Linked DNA regions of Homo sapiens: all the other regions are linked to region 3. Evidence: promoter capture Hi-C in 16 types of primary human blood cells and fetal thymus (Javierre and others, 2016). All regions are on one chromosome and are shown on one strand. The core of a region is centred on a gene start or on the middle of the fragment in contact, and the rest is flanking DNA. Distances in the headings are between cores, read along the strand shown. Region 1 overlaps MTMR14 (myotubularin related protein 14). Region 2 holds the start of CAMK1 (calcium/calmodulin dependent protein kinase I). Region 3 holds the start of GHRL (ghrelin and obestatin prepropeptide).

Region 1 (4,188 bases), core at 667-3,166, 620 kb after region 3:
GCCTTTTATTTGTTTTTGTTTTTATTTTTGTTTTGAGACGGAGTTTCCCTCTTGTTGCCCAGACTGGAGTGCAATGGCACAATCTTGGCTCACTGCAACCTCCGCCTCCTGGGTTCAAGCGATTCTCCTGCCTCGGCCTCCCGAATAACTGGGATTACAGGCATGCGCCACCGCGCCCGGCTAATTTTGTATTTTTAGTAGAGATAGGGTTTCTCCATGTTGGTCAGGCTGGTCTTGAACTCCCTACCTCAGGTGATCTGCCTGCCTCAGCCTCCCAAAGTGCTGGGATTATATGCGTGAGCCACTGCACTCGGCTTTTGATGCCTTTTATAACAAAAAAAGCTTTGGGGAAAGCATTCAGGCATCTTAACATTTTGGCACACTTCCTTTTAAGCCTTTTTTATAAGCACATTTTCCTTTACTTAGTTGAGAGTATACTATGTGATTCTGTATCCTGCCTATCTTAAGCTCTGTGACGTTTTCCATGTCAAAAAGTGTAAGCATTTTCTATTTTTTATTTTTGGTAGAGACAGAGTGTCGCTGTTTCCCAGGCTGGTCTTGAACTCCTGGGCTCAAGCAATCTTACTGCCTAGGCCTCCCAAAGTGCTGAGATTAAAGGCGTGAGCCACCATGCCCAGCCCATTTTCGATTCTTCTATGACTATACAATATTTCATTCTACTGAGGGATGTGCCATCATTCAATCATTATTCTGATTAGTGAAAACATTTCTTGTTTTGCTATTACAAATAGACATCATGATGAACGTCCTCAACACCAAGTGGCTGAATTACAGCCTAATGACCAATTATTAGAAAAATACCTGGGTCAAAGGGTGATAACATTTTGGGAGTCCTGTAACAAGTTGCCAAACTACAGCAGAAAGGACACTGTGCTACTATTTTGGAGCAATGTTATTTATACTTCTAGCAAAACTATTTTTTCCAAACCAAGTCCTACTTGGAACCTAAATTTAAACGAAGTGATGCCTGGTTCCTCAGGCAGTGCAAACCTGCAGAGTTCAGTCTGTGGAACCCCCGAAGCATCTCCTGGGAGCTGGAAACTATGTCTGAAAACCAGCTATGGAGTTACCCAGTGGTTCCAGTGTGGACCCCCTTAGGTAGGATACACCCATCAGTGTGGGTCTGATACTGCCAAGCTCACTCCAGCATCATTATCATCATCATCATCATCACCATCATCAACATCATCACCACCATCATCATCATCTGCATCAGCGCAAACTTGCTTTTAGGGAAAAGGAGGTTCCCTGAAGCTTTCCCAACTACTCATCATTAGGCCTGTTATTTACAGGACACCTGTTATGGAGGGGTCTGGCACTTCACTCTTAAATAAGCACCATTATCTTCATTTTATTAAGGAGGGAACTGATGCTCAGAAGGGTTATAGGACTTGTTCAAGGAGACACAGTGCTAGGGCTGGGATTCCTGCCCCCAGCTTGCACATGATGAGGACACCCCTCCCACAAGGCACTAGATGAACCTGCCTGCCCTTGCTCATGGCTATGTGGCCCCAATATTGAGGAGATAAGGTCCAACACAACACTGAAGGCAGATGCTGGTGCTGAGAAATAGGAGAGAGGTTTTAAGGAGAAAGAGTATTTACTCCCTGTTGTCTGCTGACAACATCTTGCACTGATGTTAGAGGTCCTTGGCCTCCCTTACTAAACAGGCAGGTATTGCCAGAAAACTTGAATGCTACACACTAGACCAACAGCTTTAATATCCAGTGCAGAGAATACAGCCCTGGCCACAGGTTGCACACACTTTTATGTGCCAGGAACAAATGCAGCTTTGTGGATACCAATGTGCTTTGCAACATGGTGTGGCCACTGTCCAGTTACTGGGAACATAGCAATTATGTGTTCTTCTACCACCAGAATAGCCTTGCCTGGGGCAATTTCCATAAATAACTCAATCACTTCAAGACATGCACCCAAAGGGTGACATCCACTCAGGCTACAGCAGCAAGTGTAGTTGCTCACACAGAGTACTAATAATGTCATTTTACACTTAAACAGTATTTTCATGCACAGACCACTTTCATATAAATCAAAACTGAGCTAAATCGTTCCAAGCTCCTGAGAAAACTTGAGGCTTGGAGGGGTGAAGTACTTCACTCAAGGCTGTGGCTAGGACCAGTGACAGTACAAAATCCCTAAACCCCTTGAGTGGAAAGCCCCTTCCCCAGGACACTATCCTATGCTTAGTGTGGCCTGTGACTGGGAACCAAAATGTCCTACACTGCCTGACACAAACCCTCCAGGAAAGCTCCCAGGGCGCCAGTGTAACTAAGTAGAGAGGGCTTGCTCATGGCCCCCAAGGTCCCCAGTCCTAGGATGCCTGCCACTAGAAGAGAGCCCCCTACCTGGATACGGGATGGAGAGGAGAGTGAAGTCGGCATAGCGCTGGGCTTTGTCCACCTTCTCAGAGGAGGTTACACTACAAGACAAGGATACAATGTGTTACAGTGTCGCAACACACACACAAACACACACCATTCCCCAAATAAGGGTTATAATCACAAATGAAGCTTCTGCTAAAAAAAACTATTCTTCATTGTTAATAATTCCCTTCAGCAGTGCCTACTTTGTACAATTAAGAACTATAACTTCAGCTGGGTGCATCGGCTGGAGGTCATGTTCCCAACATGGAGAAACCCCGTCAAGACCAGCCTGGACAACATGGTGAAACATTGTCTCTATCAAAAATATAAAAAACTAGTGGGGTGTGGCAGCGCGCTCCTGTAATCCCAGCTACTCAGGAGGCTGAAGCAGGAGAATTGCTTGAACCCAGGAGGCAGATGGTTGCAGTGAGCCAAGATTGTGCCACTGCACTCCAGCCAGGGTGACAGGGTGAGGCTCCATGTCAAAAAAAGAACTCTACCTTCTCTGCCCCTATTCCAACATATCAACCAAGGGAAGTTACTCCCCCTCTAATACTACAGCAAGCCTCAATCAGAGCCTAAAGGTGGAAAACAACCTTCCACCTGACCCCAAAATGCACACAGTGTAGCCACTCTGACCCAGGAATGAGATGAGAGCCAAATAATATGATCCTATGGGAACCCTTTTTTTCTGCTCTCCTGTCTTCTCTAATAGTCACTGAGCCCACTTCTGAACAGGGTGAACAAACAGCATCTGAAAATAAACACTGGGGACTCTGACAGATAAAGGATGGGAGGAATAAGGCAATATTCAGATCTGAAGATAGGTGAGCTCTAACGTTAGCCTCAGTATGCCTTATTTTCTAAGACCACCTTTTAGGATCATTTAAAAACATTTAAAAATCATTTAAAAAACAAAATTTTGGAAAAAGTTCCTGAAGTCTCATCACTAACCCAGGCTCTATTTTTTAGTTTTGACTTCTTATATTTGAATTTGGTCCATATGTGTTATTTTTATATGACAGCAGTCACTGAAGTAAAATTTGAATATATGCTGATTTTTTTGTTCAATTTTAAAAGAAATTCTAGGACCAGGCACAGTGGGCTCATTCTTGTAATCCCAGCACTTTGGGAAGCTGAGGCAGGAGGACTGCTTAGGGCCACATGTTTGAGACCACTTTAGGCAACAAAGACTCTGTCACTATGAAAAATAAATTAAAAAAATTAAGAGATTCTAATCTGCCACACATGGCATAGAACATGGAGCTGGAAAAAAAAAATACAGAGATATGTAAGAGAAGGTGGCAGCAGAGCACTGGGTAGAGACTGATGGCTGCCTCAGTCACTAACATACAACCTGAGCAAGCTACTTCATCTCTCTGTGCTTCAGTGTCTGTAAGAGGGGGACACTGGTACCTATTTTGCAGGGCTGTCTGAAGATACAGTGAGATAATGTACAGAAAGCCCTTTGTAAGAAGGCCAGCACGCAGTGACAGCTACATACTAACGCCAGCCCTGCAAATCTGTACACACTGCCTCTGCTCATTTTGTAGTGGGCGCCTGTACTTACTTCATGCCAAACTTCACCTTCTTGTTCTCCACCATCAGGTCACAGATGTATTTGACTGACAGGTATCGAAGCAGCTTGATGTCATAGCCTCTGACCTTATCAAAAAGATGCGTGTCACCACTTCTGAAATAAAGAGCCAGAGGGAGAAGTTACATGGCATGTTCACTCACAGGAGCTTGGGGGTGGGCACTCATTCAGGGAAGTATGGATGTC
Region 2 (3,878 bases), core at 1,050-3,549, 520 kb after region 3:
CACTTGTTCAATAGAAATACTAAGAAAGTAAAGATAATGTGTTTGTTAAAGAAAAGAAAACACGAGGCCTCTCAGAAATGCTCAAAAGCAGGAAAAATGTAAAGCACACCATAGAAGCTGTACAAGTCAGCTGGGCGCGGTAGCTCATGCCTGTAATTCCAGCACTTTGGGAGGCTGAGGCAGGTGGATCACCTGAGGTCAGGAGTTCGAGACCAGCCTGACCAACATGGTGAAACCCCCATCTCTACTAAAAATACAAAAATTAGTTGGGCGTGTTGGTTCACGCCTGTAGTCCCAGATACTTGGGAGGCTGAGGCAGGAGAATTGCTTGAACCCAGGAGGCGGAGGTTGCAGTGAGGCGAGATGGCACCATTGCACTCCAGCCTGGGCAACAGAGGGAGACTGTCTCAAAAAAAAAAAAAAAAAAAAAAAAAAGAAGTTGTACAAGTCCTCGAAAGGACAGAGGTCATCTTATCACCCAGGGGGTGTTGTCATCAAGATGAACAGGAATTTGTGGTAAAAGAACCCCTAGCTCAGTGGGTGTGCTTGGTGGGTATAGGGGAGAGTGGGGGCTCAGCCCTGAGCAGGAAATGTATTTTTCCATGAACTAAGGAGTCTGAGATACTGAGATTTGGAAGATGGATCCCTTAACCCCTCATCCCTGGCCAAATCAAGTCCTCTCTCTGAGTCTCAGTTTACACTGAGTCTAGCTCTCATGTTTTGAATAGTGTTCTAGGCACTTCATATCATTATATCATAGAATTCTCAGAACTCTGAGTCAATCTTCAATATTCCCATGTTCCCGAGTAAGAAACTGAGGTTCGGAGAGGTAAAGCATGACCAGGATCAGTTAGACTCCAAAGCCTTTCCAGGAACCTCAGCTATCTTCCTCTCTCATCTGTAAGATGGGCATAATAAATTGGCCAGGTGCAGTGGCTCATGCCTGTAATTCCAGAACCTTGGGAAGCTGATTGGGGAGGATTGCTTGAGCCCAGGAGTTTGAGACCAGCCTGGGCAATATAGTGAGATCCCCATCTCTACAAAAAATAAAAAAGCCAGGTGTGGTGGCACGCACCTGTAGTCCCATCTACATGGGAGGCTGAGGTAGGAAGATGACTTGAGCCCAGGAGTTTGAGGCTGCAGTGGGCCGTGATCATGCCATTGCACTCCAGCCTGGGTGACAGAGCAAGACCCTGTCTTAAAAAAAAAAGAAAAAGAAAAAAAGAAGAAGAGAAAGAAAGAAAAAAGAAAGAAAGAAAGAGAAAAAGGAAATGAGCTGGGCATAAGCACTGTTCTCTCCCCATCACCAGCTGGAACATGCAAGAATTCAGGAGTAGGGAGTGGCACTTGGAGGCCCTTGGAGGTGGAGTGGGGTCCCAAGCAACGTGCCTCCTCCGGCTGCCCCCAGTTCAGCCCCATCCCCAATTCCTGCGAGTTGCTCCCCCCGCCCCCTCTTTCCACTCGGCACCAAATTTCTTCCCAAGGAAGGCCTTGAGCAAACCGACCTTTGGCCTCTTGCCTGCCGTCCTAGTTGCAGGCTCTCTCCCCTAACCTGGACCCCAGCCATCAAACTCTGGAGCCCCGCCAGTCACGTGACACCTCGGTCCTTTTTGGCCTGTTTCCTTCAGGATCCCGATTTAACTTCCTCCTCCCCAATTCCCTCTGCCCCCAATACCTCTAGGCACCACCACCCGCTCTGAGGAGCAAGTGTCTGGGGCTGAAGCCTCAGCTCCATCTTGCAGAGGAACCGGGGCCTCAGTCTTCCCACCTGTCAAGTGGGGCCCACACCCTGCGACCACCTCCACTCTCTTCATTGCCTAGTCTTGCCCGGTCCTTCCCCACTCCCTCACTCCCCCATCCCCCACCAGACTCCCGTGCAGTTCCAGGGCCTGTTTCCCTTCAGGGCACGGAGAAGGGAGACAGAGCCCTAAGGGAGGTCGCAGAACTGGTCTGAAAGAAAATCCACCAGGCCACAGGGTGAGTTTGGCCGGCCTCTAGCTTCAGACAGACGGGGTTCGAATCCTGCTTTGCTTCCGACCACCCGCTGATTTGAAAATCATCTCTCCGGGCCTCAGTTGTCCCCTCTGTGAAATGGACCCCGCTTAAGACCAAGGGCGGGAAGCGTCCAGCAGGAGATCTCTGACCAGAAGCAGGGAGATGGCCTCCACCCGTGCCCCTTCCCCAGCCTTGGAGCGGTGCCTCGCCTCCCAATCCCGGGTCCCTCCGCCGCAGGCTCCACCTCCACTGACATCAGAGCCGCAGGCGGGCGGAGAGAGCCGCCGAGCCGAGCCGAGCCCCAGCTCCAGCAAGAGCGCGGGCGGGTGGCCCAGGCACGCAGCGGTGAGGACCGCGGCCACAGCTCGGCGCCAACCACCGCGGGCCTCCCAGCCAGCCCCGCGGCGGGGCAGCCGCAGGTACAGCCGGGCCCCCCATCCCTGCACCCCTGGGCGCTGCGTGGGGGCGGTGGGAGCCCCTAGCCTCTGGGTATCCTTTCCCAAGGAGTGGCCACTGGGCACTCTCCCGGGCGGGCTGGACCCTGAGGGGCAGGGCTGGGCCTTTCTCCACCTCTGTCCCAGGCCCAGCAGGTGCCAGGCGGGCCTATGGGACACTGAGTGGGTAATAGAGAAGGGGGCCTGTGTGAGCGCCTTCAGCTGGGCCTGACTGGAAGGGCGTGGGCATTTGGAGGTATCCATGGGGTGGGGGGGCTTGCGGAGTGTACTGTCTTAGGACAGGCGTGTGGGTCAGACATGGGTGGAGGATCTGGGAATCTGTGTGTTTTTTGTTCCAGAGGGGTGTCCACGTGTTTTGTGTGCTGGTATTTGGCTCTCAGGGTCTTAAGTCAGAGTTAGGAGGGGGTGTACAATTGTGTACTGAGGATGTTTGGAGTTAGGTGTGTAAGGACTTGGGGTTTGGTTTGGAATACAGGAGCTTCCAGGGGATGGGGTAGAGGAGCTGGAGGGTGTAGGGTACGTCTGGTATATGAGGGTGTGTGTGTGTGTGTCTGGGTGTCATCTTGTGTGGGTGCGGGTGGATGTGTGTTTTGGGGTGTAAGAGGGAGCTGGGTGAGGGATGTTTGGATGGACAGGCAGGTGTTCGGGTGCAGGGCTGTCTGGGGCACTGTGTGGTGTGGACATGTGTGCTGATGTCTGGGAGTACATGTATGATCAGGTGTCACGGGATGTGGATACAAGGCGTACTGGATCTGGGAGGCAGGTGTTTGAGTTCAGGGCTGTGGAGGGGGCTTGGTGTGGCATGTCTGCTACAGGGATGTGTGTGGATCTGTGAGGGTTGTATTTGGTAGGCCTCCATGTGGGTTTCAGACTCTGCCTCTAGAGCTTACACTCGAGTCTCCTTTCCTAGAAGATTCTGCCCCTGGATGGGTGGGCAGGGTCCCCTGGGAAAAAGGTCCTGTTCCAGGAGTGGAATCTCACACCAGAGGCCCTAGTCAGGGCACCTTCTCCTCATTCTCCCTTAGAGAAAAAGAGAGAAGGAAAGTGCTCTCCCTGAGGTCACAAAGCATGCTGGGCTCTGTTTTGGCCTCATCTGTGGATGGGTTGGGAGGCTGTGTTCTCTGAATGGGGCCCATTCTGGCTTCATATTGGAAGTACCAGCCAAGGCCATTCGATGGCCTTTGCCCTCAGCAAGCTTAGCTGGGGGCCCCAGGCCAGGTGTCATTAGGGCCTCTGGAGCCAGCCTCTACCTAACTCCAACCTCAGTCTCCCCATTCTTCATCTGATAAATGGGAGAGAACTCCCACCCTCTCCTGCTGGATGAGACAGACCTCAGCAGAGGAAGGGCCAGGCTGGATAGGGTTAGATGGGGCCAGGAAGGGACAGAGTGAGCAGGACCATTTCTCATGCTCCCGGGACCCAGATGGG
Region 3 (3,666 bases), core at 944-3,443:
GTCATATTTGTAAATCCTAGAGCAACCACTCAAAGAATAGAACAGTACAGTATAGCTAATAAGCCGACGGTGAAGACAAAATGATACCATTCAAAACCCTCTAAAAGTGGTTATGACAAGAGAAAGAAAAGGAAGAACAGATGGGACAATGGAAAAATTGGTGACTTACAAATAGTCTGGAGATTAACAGTAATGTGCTAACACTGGTGTTTTAATTTTGATAAATGTACTACGGTTATATAAGATATTCACGAGTGGAAACTGAATTGGGTTATTCAGAGAGAAAGATTTCATCTTCCATATGTTTATATTTTCTGCTGGAAGCAAGCATTTATAATCAAAATTTACCTGGGATACTTGGTAATTTATAATCAAAATTACCTGAGATACTTGAAACAGATTCTAAAGCCCCCACGCCAGAGCTACTGGATCAGAATCCAAGGATGGAGTCTTATAAACGTGCATAAAACTTATGAAGCTTTCCTCATGAATCCAACACAACCCAACACAGGTCTGTATCTGGAAATTGAGACGAGATGGCCCTCCAAGCCACGTCCCACCCTGAGGTCGTCCTATGGCTCTTAGCGGTCCATAGACTAAAAGGCTGGATGATCAGCAACGCTGAGACAACAGTTTCAGTACAGCAGTGGGGATGAGAGGCAAGGTCAAGTTTTGAGGGGCCAGGACACAGCAAAGAAGAGGACACAAGGAAAGGGGAAGGAAATGGAGATGGTAACACGAGGGGAGGGTGGGATCGGTGCACAACAGACGTTTTCAGGATTAGGAACCTGGGTGTATTTTAAGGCAGAAAGCAGAAGCCACTGGAGGGGAACAGAAGACACGAGAGAGGCAAAGTGTTAGAGCTTTGGCCCCAAGATGGCCGGAGGCTAGGGAAGCCCCAGTGAGAGAGGCAGAGCTTGGCGAAGAGGAGGGATGAGAGAGCATGGCTAAGGTCAGGGAGGATTTAAGAGCGATGGCCGCCTATCTAGAATGAGCCGCATGTGGCTGCTGAGCATTTGAAACATGGCTAGTCCAAATTGAAATGCACTGTAAGAACACACACTGGATTTCAAAGACTACACATCTGTAATCCCAGCACTTTGGGAGGCAAAGTCAGGCAGATCACTTAAGCCAGGAGTTCAAGACCAGCCTAGGCAACATGTCAAGACTCTGTCTCTACAAAAAATACAAAAATTAACTGGGTGTGGTGGTGTGACCTGTAGTCCCAGCTACTTGGGAGCCTGAGGTGGGAGGATCATCTTAGTCCAGGGAGGTGGAGGCTGCAGTGAGCCATGATAGTGCCACTGCACTCCAGCCTGGGTGACAGAGCAAGAACCTGTCTCAAAAAAATATATATGTATATTCATTTAGACATATGCTGTTGCACACTTAGACTATAGTATGGTATCAGCATACGTTTTATATTTACTGGGAAACCAACAAAATTCGTGTGACTTGCTTCATTGTGGTCTGGGACCAAAGCTGTAATGCCTCCAAGGTATGCCTGTATATTTCTATTGCAAAATGTGAATCTCGAAATTATAAAAGCTACAACTAGGACAAAAAGCAACCCCACCAAATAGCCCTATATCAAAGAATAAAATCTCTTTCTAGAACCCCAGAATTTGCCTCTTTCAGACTGAAGTTTAGCCAAATCTATGAAAAAAGAGCTTGCTAAACCAACTAATTATCAGTACAAATAAAATTATAATGAAAAGTCTATGAAGATAATTTGTTCTCAGATGCCCTTCACATATAGCAATTAATTCACAAATGATGAGTCACTCATGTGCCTTCATGAAGGCAGGCCCTCAAGAGACCCGCAACAGAAAGGAAAGCCACCGACTGGAGAGAACCTGCTTCCTGAGCCCCACCAAGTTCCAAAAAGGAGAATGGGGCTTCGTCCTCACCCTCAAGGAGTTGCCAAACTGGGCTTGGTTATTATTCACACTTGAAAAGAATGAGGAAGGTCAGCCAGTCCCCTCCAGGTCGCTCGGGCTTCCTCCAAGCTCCTCTTGGTTCAAATTTGCTGTGTCCTCCAGCCGGCATCTCTCCTCTGTTCCGTAACTGACAGGGCAGCGAGGTAGCTTCCGGATGACTCCTCCCGCCATGGTTCTTCCGTCCATCAGCTCTTCCTTCCTCAACTCTGTGGTATGTGGCTAGGGGAGTTTCCAACTCCCAGGGGACATTTCAGTTCCCCAAAGATAACACAGCTTTGCACAGTGGATGTTTACTTGCTGGTGGTCTTATCTAAGATCAACATTGGCAGCTGTGCCCGGAGAGGCCTCCAGGGTCCAGGTAAGTGGAGGCTTCATGTCTCAGGAGGTACCTGGTCACCACAGTTAGGATTTTTCTGTTTGGGGATTTTTTTTTTTATGGGTTGGTGGCTCTGAAAAAGCTGCAAGTCTTCTCTGAGGACTACAGACCTCTCTCCACCCTCTCCACATTCAGCCTCTCTGGGCTCCAGGGCCAAAAGATGTCTACACTCAGGTGGCAGACAGGCCTGTGAAGACCTCCTGGTGACATGCTCATATGTTGCTGGGACTAAAGGTGGGATTTTAGCCACCACAGTGGGTTGGTGGTGAGATGTTTACCAACAGGAGGTACTTTGTCCCTCATGTCCACTTAAAGATTCAGTCCAACCCGGCCTGTGCTTCTGCTGTCCCAAGAGACTCTAGAAAGCTCCAATCCTCCCTGAGGTTGATCTTTTAAGTCAGGGTAGGTGGTCATTCGGCAATCAACTGCTCTACTGCCTCAATGTCCTCCTCACTGGACGTCCTGCCCCAATTCCATCCTGTTCAGCGCAGACTGATTTTCCTGGAACACAATGTTCATTATGGAGCCAGATGGCATATCAGAAAGAGCACTGTATTAGGAGTCAAGAGATCCATGGGGGAATCCCAGCATTGCCCCTGATGGCTGTATAGCTTTGGGGAAAGTGAGGCCCTCTTGGCATTCAGTTTTTCTTCCAGCGAAATAAAGGATTCAGCCTCCCAGAGCTTTAAAGTCTTTCCAACTCTTTCATTCATTCTATGGTCTCTCTCTCCTCAAGAATCCTCAGTGGCTGCCCTCCTGCAAAAAAAGCCCAAACTTCTTGGGCTAGCAGTTCCCAAGGCATCCATCACCTGGCCCCAAACCACCTTCTTATGTTTTTGTTATGACCCCATCGCCACCCTCCCCCAAGCCACCCAGCCTTCTCCATGCTGCCCTGATGTACTCTACCCACGCCTTCACCTCCCCTCTGCTTGCCGCAAAGCCCTCCCTCCAAAGCCCTGCCCCGAGTTCACCACAGGCCTCTTTCCTGGAGCCTTTGCTAACATCCCTGCCGCAAGCCCCAGCCTAAGGTGAGCTCCTCTCCTGAACTGCTAGAACTTCTCTGCAGACAACTCATTGGCCCTTAGGGGTTCCTGCCTGGGCACCCAGTTGGATGAAGCACTCCAGAAAGGAAGAAATTCCTGGGGCCGAGGGAAATGAGGCAGTGGCCTTGGCCTATGCTGGGAAGTCCTATGGGCCTGGTATGAAACCATTGTCATCTGCAGGGTGTTTCACAGGTTAGAAGCCACTTTCCCCCCATCGCCTCATTTCACCCTCAAAGACTCTGGGTAAGGGGAATTATTTGTGGTCGGCGTAAGGCCAGTCAATGAGAGAGGAGCCAGGCCCGTGCTA

The links. The method cuts DNA at HindIII sites, captures the fragments that hold promoters and counts their contacts. A CHiCAGO score of 5 or more calls a contact.
Region 1: a contact is called between a fragment that was not itself captured here and the fragment with the promoter of GHRL in region 3, in 2 of 17 cell types (non-activated CD4 T cells and total CD4 T cells). The highest score is 5.5, in non-activated CD4 T cells.
Region 2: a contact is called between the fragment with the promoter of CAMK1 here and the fragment with the promoter of GHRL in region 3, in 7 of 17 cell types (naive CD4 T cells, total CD8 T cells, monocytes and 4 more). The highest score is 7.0, in naive CD4 T cells.

The regions. Positions count from the first base shown.
Region 1 is chr3:9,670,958-9,675,145 of GRCh38, reverse strand. MTMR14 (myotubularin related protein 14) reads right to left here. Exons shown (of 19, transcript NM_001077525.3): 6 at 3,976-4,098; 7 at 2,388-2,461. Among named protein-coding and RNA genes, the nearest start is that of MTMR14, 24 kb to the right of the region's middle. The HindIII fragment of the contact is 1,277 bases long and covers 1,278-2,554 here.
Region 2 is chr3:9,768,368-9,772,245 of GRCh38, reverse strand. CAMK1 (calcium/calmodulin dependent protein kinase I) reads left to right here and starts at 2,299. Exons shown (of 12, transcript NM_003656.5): 1 at 2,299-2,414. It also overlaps a transcript of OGG1 not described here. RefSeq lists a silencer at 2,349-2,528. The HindIII fragment of the contact is 10,493 bases long and covers 1-3,647 here.
Region 3 is chr3:10,291,474-10,295,139 of GRCh38, reverse strand. It overlaps GHRL (ghrelin and obestatin prepropeptide), which reads left to right and starts at 2,193. Exons shown (of 6, transcript NM_016362.5): 1 at 2,193-2,298. It overlaps GHRLOS (ghrelin opposite strand/antisense RNA), which reads right to left. Exons shown (of 6, transcript NR_073568.1): 6 at 1,691-3,072. RefSeq lists enhancers at 2,001-2,295, 2,106-2,355, 2,366-2,435. The HindIII fragment of the contact is 7,186 bases long and covers 481-3,666 here.